Linked DNA regions of Homo sapiens: region 1 is linked to region 2. Evidence: promoter capture Hi-C in human tissues and cell types (Jung and others, 2019). All regions are on one chromosome and are shown on one strand. The core of a region is centred on a gene start or on the middle of the fragment in contact, and the rest is flanking DNA. Distances in the headings are between cores, read along the strand shown.

Region 1 (4,536 bases), core at 1,804-4,303, 380 kb before region 2:
AAGATCCTGGGTCCAGAGGCTGGAGTAAAATCGTTCCCACTCACATCTAACCTACCCTGGGCTGGCTCGTGGGAGTCAAAGGCCCAGACAGTGGCTGGCCCTGTCCATCCTTGGCCAGGGAGGGTCCTGGCCTCCCTCTGCGCTGGGGGGGGAGCCCCACTCACCCTCTCTTCTTTCCTCTCTGGAGGCGCTGCCCTGCTCTCCGGCTTGTACAATTTGCTACTGAGAATTTAACTCCAGACAGTATTTTTGCCCCAATTTGCTGTAAACATTTGAGCCTGAGGCCATGTTTGTCATCAGATGAAGTGGTTTACAGATGTGAAATTGTTGTTTGTAGTCTAACATTTCTGGTTTGTAAACCCATCCGTGATGGGCTCCCAGCCCAACCCGCTGCAGATGAGGCCGCTGAGTTTCTGTTGAGAATGAAGACCGGGTTCCCAATTAGGGCAACTCGTCCCTCACACTGCTCCTTACACCCCCATCTTCCAGATCCCAGCCAAGCCCCCTCCACCCAATACACCCCAGCGTCCTTGCATCCAATTAACATCTCAGAGTGGCCACCTTTGCAGAGACCTGGCTGGGGAGGGAGGTCACAGTAAAGACACAGCCTGGCTCCTGTGGGCCCCCTGGGGACAGCAGCCCTGCACACACACTCTGGGCCTTTCTCTCCCCCTTTCAGCCTTGTCCTTGGATATCCCCCAGGTCACTCTTGCTCAGGACCAAGCAGATTGACTGGGGACAGCAAATGTAACCATAAAAGGGGATTCTACAAGGACTCCCCTCAGGGAGCAGGTGCCAGCGGTGGGGACTGGGGAGTAGATAAGAGGTGGCTGGGAGCTAGGATAAGAGCGACAGCCCAGAGTTCCTGGATCCTGGCTGAGGCTGGGTCCCGGGCCCCAGGACAGTCCTGCAGACCCCAGAATCAGAGACTGAGGAGTCAAAGACAGGCAGGAGACGCCCCTGGGGATGCCCAGCAAAGCACTGTCCCCTGCGTGCAGCTTTCCCGGGTCTCCCCACAGAAAGCTCAGTGAGGGCTGTCGTGGCCACTGGCGACCCAGGCACATTTGCTCCGGTAAGAGGCCATTGCTCTGGGAAGCAGCAGCCACACAGGAAGAGTTGGGGGAGGGCAAGGGCTCTGCCCTCCGAGGGTCCTGCAGGGCACAGGGTCTGCATAGCAGGAACCCCAGACTCTTTGTGCCCCACCCCCACTCTAACTCAGAGCTCTGTGCTAAGGAGAGCCTTATCATGCCCTCGGTGGATTCAGAAGCACTTTGTAGGGCTGAGTGACGAAACATTTGGGGCTGGGAGTAGAGCTGGCTGGGTCAGGACGACACCCCCTCCTGGAAGGGCAGGCCTGTGGGGGGCACAAGCAGGGACAACAGCCCATTCGTGTCTGCTGGTACAGGTGCAGTCTCTGTGCAGGTGGGCAGTGGGTACTGCAGGGCACCATGCTGTGTGTGCCTCGAGTGTGAACTGGGAAAGGTGGTCTCTGGTCAGACTCACACAACACACCAAGATGAGCTCACACCGGAACCACCCGAGACTCAATTGGGAGTTGACAGCCCCCAGGGGATATCCTCTTGACTAGAGAAGTCCAAGGTCTGGAGACAGAATGGGAGGTGGCATCCTCATGGCAGAGAACAGGGCCTCCTCTGGTCTGCCCATGAGGAGTGGTGCCCACCAAGATGGCAGGGACACTGTGCTGAGGAGGGTGGATCACTCCCACCTTCTTCTGAGGTTTCCACCTCAGCGAGCACCGGCCAGGCTGGGAGGGCGAGGAGCTGTGCTTGGTCCGGGTGGCCAGGGTGGGACTGTCCCCAGGATGTGGACTCTCTTGCATGAGACAGCTGGCCAAGGATGGGGGGTCTAAGAGGAGCCAAGACAGGGGAATCAGCAGGACAGGGGGCAGCCCCCAGGCCCACAGGGCCAGTGCATTCTTCGGGCAGCTGTGCTGGGTGCAGTAGGTGGACCTGGGAAAGGATGGCGCCAGACCTGCCGTTGGGACTCAGGGGCTCACTTGGGGCAGGAGCACAGCTTCCCACACATTTCTGCAGGGCTGGAGGTGGGAGAAAGGGCACAGGGTGAGCCTTCTGAGGGCATTTGTGTCCCTGCATCACTCTGCTCACTGGGAGGGCCTGGGCAAGTCTAGGTACCTTTCAGAGCCTCTCGTATCTCCTCTAGAGGAGTAATGGGGATGAAAGCACCCCTTGCTCTAGTTTGCCGTAATTAGATGGACTGACACAAACAAGGGCTCAGCATGTCTGTCTCCTTCCCTTCCCAGGGCCTGGGATCAAGACCCAGGACACACTCTGCTCTCTGCACTGCACGCCCTGCAGGGCCCTGGATGCAGCAGGCATGCCCTGTGCTGGCTATAGTAGGGGACGTAGGGTCGGCTGCTCTGGAGCCTACTCTCTGGGGGCGCTGAGTCTTATTCGAGACCTTTCTCCAGGGTGTGGATACCTGTCCTCCTGCCTGTCCCCTGGCCTCCTGCCTTCCTGGTCCCTGCTGCCCAAAGTGACTGAAGTGTGGCCAAGGCTCGCTTTCCTCATTGTCACTCCACAGCATCCCTGTAGGGCTATTGTCAGAGCAGGGAAATCAAAACCAATGCTTGTGGGAAGACACAGCAGAGAACTTCCTTATTCTGTGACACTGATGTGGGTGGCACAGGGGACCTGAGTTCAGGAAGGGGTGGGGCAGGTCATTGCTGACCCAGCAGCTTGCGGTCACTCTGAAGTGATGTAAGCCTCCTGTGTCCTAAGAGCAACCAGAGGAGGACCACAGGAGCACATGCTGTGACCGTCACAGAAGCAGGAGGACCCTGACCTAGGAACCGTGAAGGGACTAGGACATGATGGCTAATGGCTAACACGGTGCTGACAGCCAGTCCTGCAGCCTCTCGAAGCCTCTGCTCCTGAGCCTCCTCCTCGGGTTCCTTGGTGATGGTCACTTGCCTCCTGCCCTCCAGGGGCTCCTTCTGGTTCCCTTGGGGACTGTCCTCTCCCCTTAACCCTCTCTGGACCTGGCTTCTGCTCTAGGCTCCCAGCCCTGTTCCCAGCCCCAGTCTCTAGTCTGATGCTATCTATTGAGTCTCCTCCTGCTCCTGGGGCAGGTGTGCAGGGGGGCAGCAAATCCCAGGTGATGGCACTGTGCCCAGGGGGCGAAGACGGTTGGAGAGAAGATTCTCCTCACCCACCTTTAGAGTGGCACCCACCATTTCTGGCAAATGCACCATGTCTCCCCTCTGGGCTAAGCTCTTTTCGCGCCCAATCCAACCCTATCTTACCCAATATTGGGAATAGGGAGTTGCTCCCGACACCACCGTGCTACGAGGAAAAGCCATTCTTTCCTTTTCCTGTGAACACACAGAGGGTAAGTGGTAGAGCCCAGATTCACACCGGTGTCTATGCAAAACCATAGGCAGCACTGAGATTTCCCTAAGGCCAGGCTCATTAGGGTTATGTAGGGTGCACAGAGCGGGGCTGGGAGAGGCCTGCAAGGCCCAGTAGGTGCTTCCTGCCCAAGAGTCCTGAGGTGGCCCACCTGGCTAGAGAAGCATGGTCGTTGCTTGTTTGGCAGAACACAGGACTGTTGTGGTATCCTTCATTGCCGTGTTCATGTATATAATTTAAATTAAAATGTAAAATTAAAGAAAAGAAAGAAAGACGTTAGAGCAGCCCCGGTCAGCCCCGGTCCTGGGAGGTATCACCCAGGTTGTGGGCTTTGCACTCCTCTCCCATATGATCACAGCTCCCCTCGGCCCCGGTGGCCCCCCTGCCACGCCGCCTTGAATTTGACAATGCCACATTAGAAGTCTTGGTCTTAATCCTGAATGTTTCTTTTGCCCACCTTCCCTTTCATTCGCCCAGCTGTTTCAACCCCAAAACGCTGCTTCCTCCCCTTCCTCTCACTTCCATATCTAATTAGTAACTCACTCTGGCTGAATTCATCCCCACAATTCACCCCCAATGTACCCTGACTGCCATCACTGTCACCTGTCGCCTGGGATGTCTGACAGTCTCCGGTTCACCAGCTCAGCTCCCATTCCCTTTGCATGCAGCTACTGGAGTGACTTTGTTTTTTTCTTTTTTTAGAGATAAGCTCTGTCTCTGTCACCCAGGCTGGAGTGCTGCAGCGTGATCATATCTCACTGCAGCCTCGAACTCCTGAGCTCAGGCAATCCTCCAATCTCAGCCTCCTGAGTAGCTGGGACAACAGGACCATGCCACCATGCCTGGGGAATTTTTTGTAGAGACAGGGTCTTGCTATGTTGCCCAGGCTGGTCTTCAAACTCCTGGTCTCAAGCAATCCTCCATCCTTGACCTCCCATAGTGCCAGGATTACTGGCATCAGCCACCTGGCCCAGCTCTGGAGTGACTCTTCAAAAGAAAAACCAGGTCATGTCACTGTTTGGTGACATGAAACAACCCCTACCCCAACCACACATGGATATGCACATGTACACATGCATGTAGGCTCACACACCCATGTATGCATGTGCACGTGCATGTGGGCACATGCGGGAGGGTACACCCAGTT
Region 2 (3,107 bases), core at 595-3,094:
GGTGTATAACTATTCAAATCTTTTGCCCATTTTTTAAAAAGTGGGTCCTCTTATTATTATTGAGTTCGAACGTTCTTTATTTGGGATGCAAGTTCTTTAGATCTATGCTTTGCAAATATTTTCTCCCAGACTATCGTTTGTCTTTTCATACATTCTTTTAACAATGTCTTTTAAAGAACAGAAGTTCTTAATTTTGATAAAGTCCAGTTTATCAATTGTTTCTTTTATGAATCATGTTCTTCATGATTTTTTTTTTTTTTTTTTTTTTTTGAGACGGAGTCTCGCTCTGTTGCCAGGCTGGAGTGCTGTGGCGCGATCTCGGCTCACTGCAACCTCCACCTCCTGGGTTCAAGTGATTCTCCTGCCTCAGCCTCCCAAGTAGCTGGGACTACAGGAGCTCGCCACCACGCCCGGCTAATTTTTGTATTTTTAGTAGAGACCGGGTTCACCATGTTGGCCAGGATGGTCTCAATCACTTGACCTTGTGATCCATCCACCTTGGCCTCCCAAGGTGCTGGGATTACAGGCGTGAACCACTGCGCCCGGCCTTCTCTTGTGCTTTCTTCTAAAAGTTTTATATAGTCATAGTAGACACCTTATAAGTGTGCTGGATTAAATGTGAAAATGTATGTAAAGCCCTTAGCACAAGGCCTGGTAGAGACTAAACAATCAGCTGAGCCTAAGATGGACATTGACTATGTAATTTTTATAAGGAGCACCCTCAGGCCCAGCACACATTTCCTCCACACAGATGTTGTGTCCTGTCATCACAGAATGGCAGGATACCAGAGAAGCAAAAGCCTCCACCCATATCCTCATCCAACCTGCTCCTGGAACCAGTGAAGGTGACTGCAGACATAGAGAGGCCATAGAGCTACAGGGCAGCAGGAGAGCCAGCCCTGGAAGGTGGCCCTTCCCCTGCAGGGAGCACTCCTCCATCTAGCCTCCGTTTCCATGAAACCTGGAGGTCTAGCCCAAGCTGTGATGGGGTGATGGGGACTAGGCTCTGTTTACTGAGCACCTACTGTATGCTAGGCCCTTGGGTAAGGCATTGAATAAGTTAGACAACACCTGGGCCTCGGGAGCTCACAGACTAGCAGCAGAAGAGGCCATGAACAAATGATTGCGTAATTAATTGCTAGATTCAGGAAAGGGGCAACGTTCTGGGGTAGGAGGGGATGGGGAAGAGGAAGTCTCAGCCGCCGCCTCTGTGCCAGGCCCCTCCAGGCTGGGGGTGGGAGGGTGCGCGGGCACAGGGACACACATGACGTCATCGTAAGAGGCAGGGGAAGGGTGGTCCTGGGAGGTGGGGGCTGCTCTGGAGGGCTGTAAGAGAGGGTCATTCACTCGTGGTTCATTCATTCGAGAAATATTCATGCGGCGCCTACTGCGTACCAAGCACCCTCTAAGAAGGACGAACACAGCTCCTGCCCTCTCATTATATTTGGGGCCGACAAAGTGGCAGGAAACAGCCAAACAAATCAAGCGTGAAGATGGTTTCAGCAGAGCCGACGGCTCAGAGGGGCTGCGACCGGGGCAGGGGACCGGGGATGCGGGGCAGGGACACGGCCCACACTTGCTGTGCACGCACCGCCCTCCCCCAAACACTTTGCAAAGAGGTCACCGCACTGGCTGCGAGCGCGCCCTGAGCCCCGGGCCGCAGCACGCGCGCCCCCGCGCCCGAGGTCGCGCGCTGCCCAGCCCCCCGCCCGCGCCCCGCGAGCTGCGCCCGCCGCGCACGACGCCCCCTCGCGGGAGCCCTGGGCCGCCGGCCGCGCGCGCAGGGGAGGGGGCGGGGGCGCCGCGCACGCGCACGGGCCGGCGGCGCGCGCCGAGCGGGGGGCACCGCGCGGGTGCAGCCACGATGGAAGGGGGTGCGTACGGAGCGGGCAAAGCCGGGGGCGCCTTCGACCCCTACACCCTGGTCCGGCAGCCGCACACCATCCTGCGCGTCGTGTCTTGGGTAAGGACGGACTGGCCGACGGCTCTGCCAGGCCGGGGTGGTGGGGGTGTGAGCAAAGGCGGCGCGCCCGGACCGACCCCGACCCCGACCCCAACGGGCCCCCGGCGGCGGCGCGGCGGCGGGCGAGGAGCTGTCCTGCCTGCGGGGCCCGCTGCCGCCGCTCCTCCTTCCCGGGCCCGGGGCGGGCGGGATCCCTGGTGCTCGCGGGAGACGCCGCTCCGGCTCCCGGAGCCCTGGTTTCCTGGGGCCCCCGGTTCGTGCGCCCCCCTTCCCGCCCCGATTGCTGTGACCTCCAGGCCGCGGCTATGCCGCGAAAGGCTCGGATTGTGCGCGGCCGCCAGGGCGGACTGGGGACCGTGGGGACGGAGCCAGGGTTTAAGGTGGCCTTTTTTGGGGGGTGGATCAGGGCGTGGACCATCTCGGTGGGGTGCATGCCGCGCCTGCGATGGACGTTGGAGGAGGAGAGGGCCGGGAACCGGGTTCGTATTGCCTAGCCCGGCCCGTGTGGAGCGATGAGTCGGGAACTGAGTACCTCTCTTCCACCCGGGAACTGCCTCTCCTTCTCTGCGTGACCTTGGGCTGGGAGCCACCCAGGAAATGTTCTCGAGAAATGAGGACTTCAATTCCGAGGTGGGGAGTGTCATCTCCTCTCTCATGCCTCAGTTTCCCAATTTATAGACAAGGTGGGCGGAGCCTTCTTGAGGCCCCCTTGGGCTCTGACATTTCATGAACCGGTAACACCCCTCCCACTCAGCATGCACCTGGATGCCCAAGGCGGGTGTCTGGGAGAAAGGTCTGCTCCCACAGTGAAGAGGCCAGGGTGGCCTCCAGCCTAGCTGGGGGGCAGGGTCCTCAGTGCAGAGGGCTGAGTGGGCTCTTGTTCAGACGGGTGGTCAGGGAGAGGATGGGTCAGAGACAGTGAGCACAGAGGGAGGGGTTCAGGTGCCTTGAGTGGCACCTCATGGAAAGAAGCCCTGCTGGGGTCTGGAGAGGGGGTTTCTGGGGCTCCCTGGGTTTGGCTGGCTGTATCCCAGAAACTCCCACTCGAGGTTCTGGCCTCTGCAGGCCTGGGGCCCGTTCCTTGTGGGCTTAGACTAGGAATGGGCTAGACTGTCAGGGACCCCAGGGGCTACCCCAAGGCCAG

What was found. Contacts are between HindIII fragments. The study calls those that stand out against the background at their distance.
Region 1: a contact is called between a fragment that was not itself captured here and the fragment with the promoter of SYNGR1 in region 2, in 3 of the 25 tissues and cell types used here (heart right ventricle, lymphoblastoid cells and mesendoderm cells).

Annotation. Positions count from the first base shown.
Region 1 is chr22:38,965,248-38,969,783 of GRCh38, forward strand. It overlaps LOC105373033 (a long non-coding RNA gene), which reads right to left and starts at 2,606. Exons shown (of 3, transcript XR_007068099.1): 1 at 1,727-2,606; 2 at 165-413. It overlaps LOC124905118 (a long non-coding RNA gene), which reads right to left and starts at 4,120. Exons shown (of 3, transcript XR_007068101.1): 1 at 3,993-4,120; 2 at 3,541-3,598; 3 at 2,866-3,352. RefSeq lists an enhancer at 378-1,357. The HindIII fragment of the contact is 5,262 bases long and covers 423-4,536 here.
Region 2 is chr22:39,348,147-39,351,253 of GRCh38, forward strand. SYNGR1 (synaptogyrin 1) reads left to right here and starts at 1,845. Exons shown (of 4, transcript NM_004711.5): 1 at 1,845-1,963. The coding sequence starts at 1,865. RefSeq lists a silencer at 1,892-2,051. The HindIII fragment of the contact is 13,153 bases long and covers 1-3,107 here.